Linked DNA regions of Homo sapiens: all the other regions are linked to region 1. Evidence: promoter capture Hi-C in 16 types of primary human blood cells and fetal thymus (Javierre and others, 2016). All regions are on one chromosome and are shown on one strand. Each heading gives the region's core, a stretch centred on a gene start or on the middle of the fragment in contact. The rest is flanking DNA. Distances are from core to core; before and after follow the strand shown.

Region 1 (4,211 bases), core at 607-3,106:
GGGAATCCCTTGAATTCAGGAGGCGGAGGTTGCAGTGAGCCGAGATTGTGCCACTGTACTACAGCCTGACGACAGAGCAAGACTCCGTCTCAAAAAAAGAAAAAAAAAATTAGGCGTGTGTGGTGGCGGGTGCCTGTAATCCCAGCTACTCTGGAGGTTGAGGCAAGAGAACTGCTTGAACCTGGGAGGTGGAGGTTGCCATGAGCTGAGATGGTGCCACTGCACTCCAGCCTGGGCAACAGAATGAGACTGTCTCAAAAAAAAATTTTTTTTTCCTCTTAAGTTTCTGTTTTGTAAATTTTTATATTTTTTAATTCTTCTGGATTTTTTTTTTTTTTCCTAGACAGGGTCTTGCTCTATTTCCCGGGCTGGAGTGCAGTGGTGCTACCGTGCTATCTCGACTCACACCAGCCTCGACTTCCCTCGACTTCCTGGGTTCATATTATCCTCCCACCTCAGTCTCCCAAGTAGCTGGGACAACAGATGCACATCACCACACTCACGTCATTTTTGTCAGTCTCGCCATATTGCCCAGGCTAGGTGTGAACTCCTGGGCTCAAGTGATCTGCCCACCTCGGCCTCCCAAAGTGTTGGTATTACAGCCTCTTCTGGAATTTATTTTTCAATGTTCTTGCTTTAAATCGAAAGTCAATTAAAACCAGGATCATTGGCCGGGCACGGTGGCTCATGTCTGTAATCCCAGCCCTTTGGGAGGCCGAGGCGGGCTGATCACCTGAGGTCGGGAGTTCGAGACCAGCCTGACCAACGTGGAGAAACCCCGTCTCTACTAAAAATACAAAATTAGCCAGGCGTGGTGGCGCATGCCTGTAATCCTCAGGAAGGCTGAGGCAGGAGAATCGCTTGACCGGGGGACGCAGAGTTGCGGTGAGCCAAGATCGCGCCATTGCACTCCAGCCTGGGCAACAGTAGCGAAACTCTCATTCAAAATAAGTAAATAAATAAAAAATAAAAAAACTAGGATCATTTCTCAAATAAACTATTGGTTTGTCACTTAATTGATTTGTCACGTTTGCTTTTTATTATGTTGTACTTCTAGATTTTATCCCTGACTACTCAACTATTTGTCCAGGGTAATATAGGAGCATTACGTTAGAATATACTAGCTTTGGAGTGAGTTAAAATGTTGGTTTTCAGTAAGTAAAATTTAAGTGTCCCACTAGAAAGAGGACTGTGATTTTTCGCGGTTGGGGTCAAAGGTAACAGGAAACAAGGTAGGCAAAAAGGGGTAAAGTTTAAGGCTCTGCAGACAAATGTTAGGTGTTGTTACTGCAAAATTGAACAAAGAACAAGAATCTTGGGCTTGAAAGCCTGGACTTTTCCCTAGAAACAACCATTCACAGTGTAGGGACTGAAGGGCCAGCTGTGAGGCAGCCGAGCTAGCGCCCTATCCTCACAAAGGGAGTGAAAGACGGAGACGGGTATCGGGAAAAAAATAAGTGCTGCGTCCAAGAATTTAGGAGTCAGTCCATGTCGCAGAACAGGGAGAAGGGCTGGGAAGAAAAGGCCAGCAAGGAACCTAGGAAGAGCGGAATCTCTCGGGAGGAGGTTATGGAGGCCGCAGCGGGTGATGGGTCTCTCCTGAAGGCGACTTGCCGGGGATTCCCTATTCCGCAGTCCTCTGGGAGTCGCAAAGAGAGTTAGGAAAGGCCGTGCAGCAGCGTCGCAGCCGGGCTGGCAACGGTAGAGGAATCGGCAGTGAGGCCTCTCCCCACACCCTGCCAGCCCAACTGCCGCCGCCGCCGCCGCCGCCACCGCGGGGCCCGGGATTGGCCCGAGGGCGGCGCAGGGCGGGGCGGGGGCTGCTGGGATGCAGGCCTGAGAGGCTGGCGCGCGCGCACACGGGCGCGGGTTCGGCGGCGGCGCGCGCGTGCTCTGTCGGCCTGTGCGGCGCTGCGGCGGAGCGGGCCATGGCAGTGGGGAGGGGGCGAGTGTAGTGCTGCGCGGGGCAGGCGGGAGGTGATCGAGAGAGGCAGGGATGGGGGCGCCGGAGTGGAGCGGTTGCGGCGGCCTGGGCTGCTGACTGCGCACTTGGAATAGTAGCAGGCGGCGGCGGCGGAACGCCAGGCAGGTGAGTGCGGCGGCCGGGACCCGGATGCGGCGCGGCTGAGGGGCGGCTGGGTCGCGGCGCCGGCTGCGGTGCCCCCGGGCGTGCTGGCGGTGCGTTCTAGCTTGCCGCTACCTGCGGCGCTGGCGACTCTTGTGGTTGCACCGCGCTTCCTGCCAGCTTGGAGGATAACCGCCTACCGGCCGGTGGGGGCGTCTGGCTTGGTTGCGGCCCGCCCTGGGCTCTCCAAGGTGAGTGGCGCCCCCCGGCCCCTGGGCGGCAGAGACGCTGCCGGGCGTCCCGGGTCACTGTCGCTTTGGGTCCCGTTCCTGAGGGGCGTTTCTGTGGAGAGACGGCGTACTCGCGCCCCGCGTCTATGCGGACACCTCCGGAACTTCCCGACCCTCAGGTGCCTTTTTGCGCAGAAGTGTATTTCAGAGGCGTGGACCCAGGGTTATTAGGTTATGGACATGTTTTCGAATCCCAACGCCGCTGCTGACCAGTCCTGGGGCCTTGGGCCAAAATATCCTGATGTGTTAAATGGAAATAATAATACATACACCATAAGGTTGTTGTGAGGTTAGGCATAACTGAACAAGTGCTAAGTAAATGATACCCCTGCTGCAGCATCTCGTGTTAGCTATTGCTAATTCCTGGCTGCTGGCGTGCGTTTGGGGGCACATTTATTTCCGATCTGCTCTGGTGTTGCAGTAACCGATACTGGAGTTGCTTAATATTGGAGCCTGTTAACCTCGCAGTGGCCAAAATAGAATCCTATAGTCCCTTACTAGAATCCTGCAGTCTCTTCCCGCAGGGCTGAATTGGAACCCTGTCTCAGGTACTGAGTGGGAATTACTGCTGAAATGAAACCGAGCAAATTCGGGATTCGCTTAGGATGAAAGATGGTGGGACGTAAACTTGAAGTGCTTTGCTGTTTCATCTCAAGTGACACTTGAACTCTGCCACTTGTTACAGAGTTATAAACACACGAAGAGTATGGAAACAGACTCTTTTTTCTGCATTGCTACATCCAAAGGGAGTGACAAGTGCTTTTGTAAACATCATTGTGGGCAGTGTGACTGTCTGGTGAAGTCATGATAATTAAATGAGTACTTATTTTGAAGCACTGAATGGAAGTTTGGAGATATGATTCGTAATAAAATTGTCTCCAACGAGTCAGAGGTCTCAGCAGTTCATTAATCATTTGGGGATTTTTATGCTACATTGTAAGATTTTATGGTAAAAGCAGAACTGTTTAAGTCATAATAATGTAGCACAGGAAAGGGTGGTCAGATAAGGATCTTAACCCAGTTTCAGAATGCAGGTATGGAAGAAAGTAAAGTCTTTTTTCTGACCAGGTGCGTTGGCTCACGCCTGTAATCCCAGCACTTTGGGAGGCCGAGGCGGGCGGATCAATTGATTCCAGGAGTTCGACACCAGCCCAAGCAACATGGTGAAACCCCGTCTCTACCAAAAACACAAAAATTAGCAGGGCGTGGTGGCGGGCGCTTGTAATCCCAGCTACTTGGGAGGCTGAGGCAGGAGAATCCCTTGAACCCGGGAGGCGGAGGTTGCAGTGAGCCGAGATGGCACCACTGGACTCCAGCCTGGGCAACAGAGGGATACCCTGTCTCAAAAAGAAAAAAAAAAAATCTTTTTGAGACCGAATCTTGCTTCTTTTTTAAAAAAAAATTATTGTTGTTTTTTGAGGCAGGGTCTCGGTCTGTCGCCCAGGCTGGAGTGCAATGTCGCCATCTTGGCTCACTGCAACCTCCGCCTCCTGGGTTCAAGCGATCCTCCTGCCTCAGGCTCCCTAGTGGCTGAGACTACAGGGGCGTGCCACCACGCCTGGCCAATCTTTCAATTTTGTTTTTTTTTTTTTTTTTTTGAGACGGAGTTTCGCTTTTGTTGTCCAGGCTGGAGTGCAATGACGCGATCTCCAGCTCACCGCAACCTCCGCCTCCCGGGTTCAAGCGATTCTCCTGCCATAGCCTCCCGAGTAGTTGGGATTACAGGCATGTGCCACCACACGCGGCTAATTTTGTACTTTTTTTGGTAGAGACGGGGTTTCTCCATGTTGGTCAGGGTGGTCTCGGACTCCCAACCTCAGGTATCCGCCCGCCTCGGCCTCCCAAACTGCTGGGAT
Region 2 (4,211 bases), core at 624-3,123, 670 kb after region 1:
GTTCCCTGCCACTTGGCTCTTTCTTATTCTAAACTGTTGGAATGGAGGTACAAAATAGGCTGTCTTCTCTGTGGCAGGTGTGGGTACAAATTGGAACCACTTTTGGGAAGCTGTTTATCAGGTTTTTCTATTTTATCTCAGGGATATCATTTATGCATATAATACACATATTTCTTTTTCGGCTTAAAACAACAATAATTTGTTATTTTATTAATATTGGGAGCATAAGGAACTAGTCTCTAGTCAACAGTTAGAAAGTAACTGAAGTGTGCCAGCAACCATGTGTGGGACCTTAGAAAGCAGATACACCCTTATTTGAGCCTGCAAAGGAAGGAGACTGCAGTCCACCATCTTTTTAAAAAATTTCCCTAGATAACTTTTTAAAATCGTATATATTGAAGGTGTACATGATATTTTGGAGACCTGTGTATATGTCTTTGTATTTGCAGTATTTAAGGAAATTAAATATAGCTTATTTTTCTGCTTCAATCTAAGGTCATTTTGAGTGCCCCCCTTATAATTCATCTACAATCAGGAGTATATATCATGTGAGAAATATTGAAGTCTATAAATTAAAACAGGTACGTAAAAAGCGCATTACAGCAGACTTGAAAACATTTTAAAGTAATTCTGTGCCAAAATGTATTTTGGTCATATTGGTATACTACTTTCAAGAAGAGCAATTCTGTATTTTTAAAATGTGGATCTTGAGTTTTTAGGAGGTTCACAGATGAACCTTTTTTTTTTCTTTTTTTGAGACAGAGTCTCACTATGTCACCCAGGCTGAAGTGCAGTGGCGCGATCTCGGCTCACTGCAACCTCCGCCTCCTGGGTTCAAGCAAGTCTTGTGCCTCAACCTTCTGAGTAGCTGGAACTATGGGCGCACACCACCACACCTGCCTAATTTTTTGTATTTGTAGTAGGGATGGGGTTTCACCATGTTTGCCAGGCTGGTCTCAAATTCCTGACCTCAGGTGATCCGCCTGCCTTGGCCTCCCAAAGTGCTGGGATTATAGGTGTGAGCCACTGTGCCCGGCAAAATTTTTTTTACTTCAATAATTACGAGTTTATTTTAGTAAGAATGAAAGATTTAATTCATGATTTCAAATATTACTTAGGTTAAGGCTAAAGAATACCTATTAAAGTGATATTTAAAATAAAATGTTAAAGTGATATTTTAAAGAAAATATTGAAATAAACATTTTATTTTATGTAATAGTAATTAAGTAATGGTATTAAATAGAAAATAAGTAATAGTAAAGATGATAGAGGAAATGGGAAAATTGTGAAGGTGGTATGGAAACACTGCTTAATTGCAGAGTAGGTGAAACTAGGTTGTTTGAGAACCCATTACATGGCTGACACTGGGCTAAACAGACTTCACACTTGGTATTTCATATAATCTCCACTCAAACCCTATGAAATAGATGTAACTCTTAACTTCATCCCTTTAAGGATGAGAAGCCAAGGCTCAGACAGGTAAGTAACCTGCCCAGGACTTCCCAAAGTTTAGTGGTAGAGCCTGCCTGACTGCACTCATGCCCATCACACTGTCTCTAGAGCCTCTGCAGGAGTCTAACAATTCTTGCAAGTGTTTCTTTTATGCCCTGTGCATACAGTTCCCTTAAATAGATTTTCTCTTTCACCTATCTAAATCCTACCAGTCCTTTAAGACCCAACTTAGATGCCATTTCCCAACCATGAGTTTTCTTCTTTTTTTTTTTTGAGACAAGGTCTCACTCTGTCACCCAGGCTGGAGTGCAGTAGTATGATCATGGCTTGACTCACTGCAGCCTCAATCTGCCAGGCTTGGGTGATCCTCCCACTTCAGCCTCCCGAATAGCTTGGACTATAGGCATGCATCACCTCGCCCAGCTAATTTTTTTCATATTTTTTAGAGACAGAGTTTCGCCATGTTGCCCAGGCTGGTCTCAAACTCTTGAACTCAAGCGATCCTTCTGCCTTGGCCTCCGAAAGTGCTGGGATTACAGGCATGAGCCACCATGCCCAGCCAGCCATGACTTCTCTAGTTTAGAGTCATTACCCTAGTTTGAATTTTTGTTGCATCTGTTGGCCATACCAGTTATTCAGTGGTTAGTCATATCTATCTAATATCTAATATTTTGTATTGTCTTGAGCAGTTATTTAAGTTTTTTTTTTTTTTTTTGAGACAAAGTTTCACTTCTGTTGCCCAAGCTGGAGTGCAACAGTGCGATCTTGGCTCACTGCAACCTCTGCCTCCTGGGTTCAAGCGATTCTCCTGCCTCAGCCTCCTGAGTAGCTGGGATTACAGGCGCCCACCACCACGCCCGGCTAATTTTTTGTATTTTAAATAAAGATGGGGTTTCACCATGTTGGCCAGGCTGGTCTCGAACTCCTGACCTTCAGGCGATCCACCCACCTCGGCCTCCTAAAGTGCTGGGATTACAGGCGTGAGCCACTGTGCCCAGCCGGTATTTAAGTTGTTTTAATTTCATTTTTCAAGTATTCGTTTCAGATTACTTGAAGGTTCTGGGGATAAGTAAAGTCTGGAGTATATTTTGTTTCCTTAAGTTGTTTAATGAAATACTAATTTATGTAGTAAACACAGTTTTTTAGTGTATACTATGTGAGCCTATTAGAATTTTTTTTTTCCTGGTAAATCTTTGGGTTTACTGAATCAGTCATGTTAGAGGTCTCGTGAAATCTAGTGTCTCTGGATCTTCAAAACAGTAATTTCTTTTTTCTTTTTTTTCTTTTTGAGATGGAGTTTCACTCTTGTGGCCCAGGCTGGAGTGCAATTGCATGATCTCGGCTTATTGCAACCTCCACCTCCTGGGTTCAAGCGATTCTCCTGCCTCAGTCTCCCTAGTAGCTGGGATTACAGACAGATGCCACAACGTCCAGCTAAATTTTTGTATTTTTAGTAGAGATGGGGTTTCACCATGTTGGTGAGGCTCGTTTCGAACTCCTAACCTCAGGTGATCCACCTGCCTCAGCCTCCCAAAGTGCTGGGATTATAGGCGTGAGCCACCGCGCCCGGCCCAAAATAATAATTTCTTTACCAAAGAGGAAAAGAACTATGGTTATCGTGTATTTTAGAAGCTAAGTGCTAAAGATCTTAGATGACTGGCAGTCTAATCAGAGTCTGTCTCCATTGCCTTGCCTTGCCACTGAAAATAAGAATGATTTATGAGCAGAGAAAATGCAGCTTCTCTTTGCCTAGATGAATGAGTTGCCTAGTATTTTTATCACTCTCTTAAAGTGTCCTTAGAATGAATTATACAGAATTCTAGAGATCTCAGTGGGTGAATGGTTGTATGGTGGTAGAGAGAAGGGAGGGGATTGTTTTGGTTAATCTGTTTTAAGAGTTTTCTTTCTTTCTCTTTTTCTCTTTTGAAAGCTGAAGCAGCCTATAGATATATTCTTGTCTCATGATTGGCCAAGAAGTATATATCATTATGGAAATAAGAAGCAACTTCTTAAGACTAAATCTTTTTTCCGACAAGAAGTGGAAAATAACACATTAGGAAGTCCAGCTGCCTCAGAGCTTTTAGAGCATCTCAAACCTACTTATTGGTTTTCTGCCCACCTTCATGTGAAGTTTGCCGCCTTGATGCAGCATCAGGTAGAAAACAAAATGTTTATTCTTTCATTTAACACACACTATTGAACATCTATGGACCAGACACAGTTGTAAAGTTAGAGAAAGAAGTAAAAGATAACTTACCTCTTGTGAGTAGCTCAATATATGATTCTGGGAAAGACAAGCAATTACAAAACAGTATAATAAGTTTGAGAGAAAACGTAGGCAGTGGGAGCACCTAAGCCAGACTGTGGTGGGATGGGAACATGGGAGATGAAGATAGAGAAGGTTTTCAAAAGGTGATAGCTGAACTGAGTCTTGAAGTGCCAGGAAGAAACACATTGTAAGGGTATTTTATTTAGAGGGACTGGCATGTGCAGAGGCTCGAGGTCTGAGAGCATGGGGTGTTTGGGGACTTGTAGGTAGTTCCTGTGGGACTAAGGCATAGGGACTGATGAAGCTTGAACAAGATCATAACTGCCTTCTAGGGGCCATGCTCTGGAGTTATGATTTTAACCAAAGATGATGGGGAAATTTGGGGAGTGATGAAATCAGATTTTCATTTCAGAACGATTAGTTTGACAGCATTGTTGTGTATGGATTGGAGTAATGTAAAATGGGAGGCAGAGCAGGCTATTTATGTAAA
Region 3 (4,211 bases), core at 1,093-3,592, 550 kb before region 1:
GAGAGCAAAGTGGGAAGTGCCACACACTTTTAAACCATCAGATCTCATGAGAAGTCACTATCACGAGAACGGCAAGGGGGAAATCCACCCCCATGATCCAATCACCTCCCACCAGGGTCCTCCTCCAATTTGACATGAGATTTGGGTGGGGATACAAATCCAAACCATATCATAGTCCATCAGTGACATTTTATATAAATTAACATTTTGTTTTCTGCTGTATCTCAGTACCTATAACATTACCTGGCACATAGTAAATGCTCAATAATTATTTGTTCAACCAATGAATAATATGCATTTCACTTATCACTAGTTCAGTATTTGTGTTCTCTACAATTTCAGATCTTTATCTTGTGAATTGTTTTTGCTTTGATGCAAATAACTTTTTTTTTTTGCTTTTTGTTTAGTTCTTGAGATGTTTAAAATATTTCTGATTTTATGTTTAACAGATACGTTGGTGTCCTCTCTCTCTGATTATTCCTAGGGATTCCCTCTTATCAGCTACATTTACCTATCTCAGCTCTATCACTTGATCATCGTATGTTCTAAAGCCCAGGCGTACTTTTCTTATCTTTCTCTAGGCTTTATTGTAATATATCTCTGCTTTATCTGCATTTCCACTTTGCCTCCTTTTTCTCTTCTATACCTTTTTCTGCCCTATGACAGGACCATCTGCTTCCCCTTTCATAATTCATCTCAGTGGTAATTTCATGTTTAATTTCCTTCTTTCCTCTAAGAATGGAGGTTCTGTGAGGACAAGGATTACCCTCATCTTATTTCCCACTGTTGGTCCAGTGCATGAGGCACTACCTGATACACTGTCAGGCTCCTGGTAGATAGTAAGTCTTTGTTGAATGATTAATCTGTCTTTGATTCTCCCTGTTTTTTCCCTGTGTTTATATCACCAACAGCATTTACCACTCCTATATTGAGAGCAAATTCTTGAGAGAGCCAAAAAGGTTTTTGGAAGTAAAAAGGTTTTTAGATGTACTTGAATTTCAAATAAGGAGATGCTATATATTCTTTGAGGTGGTACATGCAGTGGTTTAAAAAACATAGTATTTTAGGATTTGAAGCCAACTTGCTGATTAAATTATATAGGCAAGCCTTTTAACCATGCTGAGCCTCTTTATTTATCTGAAGTGAAGATGATATTATTGCCTTGCCTACATCACAGGATTGTCAAAAAGATAAAATAAAATTAGATAAAATTGTGTATGAAACCTATAAAGTACCATATAAGTATTAGTCATTAGTTATACTTTCCTAATCTACGTTGAGTATTTGTATGTATTGTGTGTGTAGCTTTTCTTACTCTTTATTTGCATCAGTCATAGCCCCTAACATGGCGTTGAACCTTGGCTATTTCTTCTGCAGCTGCTTTATTTTTACTGCTCAGCAGATCCCTGGATTTGTTGGCTCCTCATGAGCTTTTGTGGATTTTTCTGCCGTGTTATAGATCGCATGTTGTGTCTACTCTCAGTTTCTGTATCATAGTCAGCTGGTAGTGATTCTACAGGTTAGAGTTGAAGTGCCTACTCATTCAGCCTTTGTCTAAAGAATCTTTGAACTCTGGCTTGAAAAGTCAGAGTAGGACAGTTCTTATGAACCGGTCCCTATTACTTTTTTAGTGCACATGGTTAATCAATCAGTAAGATTATATTGTGTTTCTTAGTTATTTCATTTTTGCTCTCTGATACAAAAAAGGATTAGAAAATGATAGTTTGACTTTCAGACTTTTAAGAACAGGCATCAAAGAAGGAGAACAAAGAGGTACCATGATCTCTGCTCTTTCTAGGAGGGTCTCTACCTTTATCCTATGTGTATAATTCCATTCTGAGCAGCTCGGAGGAACATATAAGTCACGGTGTTTTCATATTTTATTAAAAAGAAATAATAACATTTGTATGGAATCATATTGCTAAAGCATGCAAAAGAATTGTACCTTATTCATGAGTCACTTTTATGGGTTTCAATTTCAAAAAGACTGACTAGGTGCAGTGGCTCACGCCTGTAATCCCAGCACTTGGGAGGCTGAGACGGGTGGATCACTTGAGGCCAGGAGTTCGAGACTACCCTGGCCAACATGGTGAAACCCCGTCTGTACGAAAAATACAAAAATTTGCTTGGCATGGTGGTGCACACCTGTAATCCCAGCTACTTGGGTAACTGAAGCATGAGAATCACTTGAACCTGGGAGGCGGAGGTCGCAGTGAGCCAAGATTGTGCCACTGTACTGCACTTCAGCCTGGGTGACAGAGTAAGACTGTCTCAAAAAAAAAAAAAAAAAAAAAAAGAAAAGAAAAAAAGAAACTAAGAGCTAATTCATTCAACAAATATTTATTACACACTACTTGTGTGCCAGCCACTGTTCTATCCTCTGCCTATACAGTGTGAAAAATATTCCTGCCTTTGGAGAGCTTAGCAGGAAAGATTGGCACTAAACATAATTATGAGGTGCTACATTATGAAAGGGAAGTACAAGTTTCCATGGGTGGATTTTCAAGTCAGAGACAACAAGAGCAGAGGTGAGGCTGGGAGTAGCCAAAGGTGAGGCTGGAAAAGGGAGGGAAGGGCTGGAGCACAGAGGATCTGGAATACCATCTTGTGGATATTTGCCTTCTCTTATCTTTTAAAAAGTGTTTTAATTTCGAATCTATTAAAAGATAGTTGGTCTTTTTTAAAAATTTGAATGTTGAGCTTTTATATTTTAGCCTGAGAATATACTAAAATGAGAAGTGATCTTAAAAATTGGATGTTTGAAATATAACAGAGTAGATTTTGTGGTTATTTTCTTATAGCTCAATTTGTGTATTCTTGTTACATTTTAAAGACACTGGTGAAGACATTTGAAGTATGTGATCTTCCTGTTCGAGCTGCAAAGTTTGTTGCAAGGAAGAATTGGGTTGTGACAGGAGCGGTAAGTAATTAATATGAATCTCTATTCCCATTTTCTGAATTGGTCAATGATTGTGTAAATTTGTTGCAGGATTTTGATTCCCGATTTGTTTTGTTATTTACAGCAATGTTTTGAGGCATAGACTTTATTCCTTGAGCCTGTGATATAGTTTTTTTGTATAATTTACTTGATAACAGGGATGATGGTTTTAAAATTTCTGTTTCTAGGATGACATGCAGATTAGAGTGTTCAATTACAATACTCTGGAGAGAGTTCATATGTTTGAAGCACACTCAGACTACATTCGCTGTATTGCTGTTCATCCAACCCAGCCTTTCATTCTAACTAGCAGTGGTAAGAGATGACCTTTTTTGGTCATGTGCGTCTCTTTGGGTAATTCATTTTCATTCACTGAGACATGCTATGCTTTAACTGCTGTTACAAATATAATTCTAATTCCAAGCGGCCTTTAAACTATTTAGATCCATTACTGTGCTATTGATGCTGCTTGTGTTTGTACTATAATGAAATATCAACTGTACTTAGGATTTGTGTAATGATTGCTCCAGTTCCTGTCAGAGAAGACCTACAAGTCTAGATGTTTAAACATCTGCTGAACAGAAAGGTCATTTACATGTTGATGAGTGAGTTTTTGGCAGATTGCCATAGACCCTATTCAGTTCAATCTTTATATTCAAACTAGTTTGCTCCTTGGTATTGTGTATAAATAGTAGACCTCTTGGAGGACTGGAAAAAGAGGTAGCACTGAATTAGTAATAGCTCTTTGAAATGTTTTTAAATTAAAAATTGAGAAGTAATTAAAAACTTTTTAAAAACCAATCTTGTGAGGGCAAATGCTTGTTCTCTACATAGTCATTGCTATCACTATTCAGTCATGCTTAGATCTAGTCAAACTTATATTACTCTTTGGCCATTCTTTAATGCCCACTGAATTTTTAAGTTTTTTCACAGAATTTTTATATTTTCTATTTCTAATCTATTTTATTTATTTTATCTCCACTTTTCTGTAGAGAGTTAAATTTATTTTTAAGATAAATAAGCATTTTGAAAACTCTATTTGGTTTTGATTCTATTTCTGTAAGTCATGGATTATATGGTTTGTGTTAGGTTTGCTTCTTCTAAAGACTGTGTCTTAGTTATGAAGTGAAAAAATAGAATTACAACTAACTTGAGACTTTCTTTTGGCCTAGATGACATGCTTATTAAGCTCTGGGACTGGGATAAAAAATGGTCTTGCTCACAAGTGTTTGAAGGACACACCCATTATGTTATGCAGATTGTGATCAACCCC

Evidence for each region. Contacts are between HindIII fragments. The CHiCAGO score rates a contact against its expected background, and 5 or more counts as called.
Region 2: a contact is called between a fragment that was not itself captured here and the fragment with the promoter of PIK3CB in region 1, in 1 of 17 cell types (neutrophils). The highest score is 5.6, in neutrophils.
Region 3: a contact is called between a fragment that was not itself captured here and the fragment with the promoter of PIK3CB in region 1, in 1 of 17 cell types (neutrophils). The highest score is 6.3, in neutrophils.

What each region holds. Positions count from the first base shown.
Region 1 is chr3:138,832,573-138,836,783 of GRCh38, reverse strand. It overlaps PIK3CB (phosphatidylinositol-4,5-bisphosphate 3-kinase catalytic subunit beta), which reads left to right and starts at 1,856. Exons shown (of 24, transcript NM_006219.3): 1 at 1,856-2,089. RefSeq lists a silencer at 1,620-2,359. The HindIII fragment of the contact is 25,969 bases long and covers 1-4,211 here.
Region 2 is chr3:138,166,477-138,170,687 of GRCh38, reverse strand. It overlaps DBR1 (debranching RNA lariats 1), which reads left to right. Exons shown (of 8, transcript NM_016216.4): 4 at 496-581; 5 at 3,383-3,607. Among named protein-coding and RNA genes, the nearest start is that of DBR1, 6.3 kb to the left of the region's middle. The HindIII fragment of the contact is 4,308 bases long and covers 1-4,027 here.
Region 3 is chr3:139,378,089-139,382,299 of GRCh38, reverse strand. COPB2 (coat protein complex I subunit beta 2) reads left to right here. Exons shown (of 22, transcript NM_004766.3): 3 at 2,834-2,920; 4 at 3,127-3,253; 5 at 4,111-4,211. Among named protein-coding and RNA genes, the nearest start is that of COPB2, 9.5 kb to the left of the region's middle. The HindIII fragment of the contact is 7,183 bases long and covers 1-4,211 here.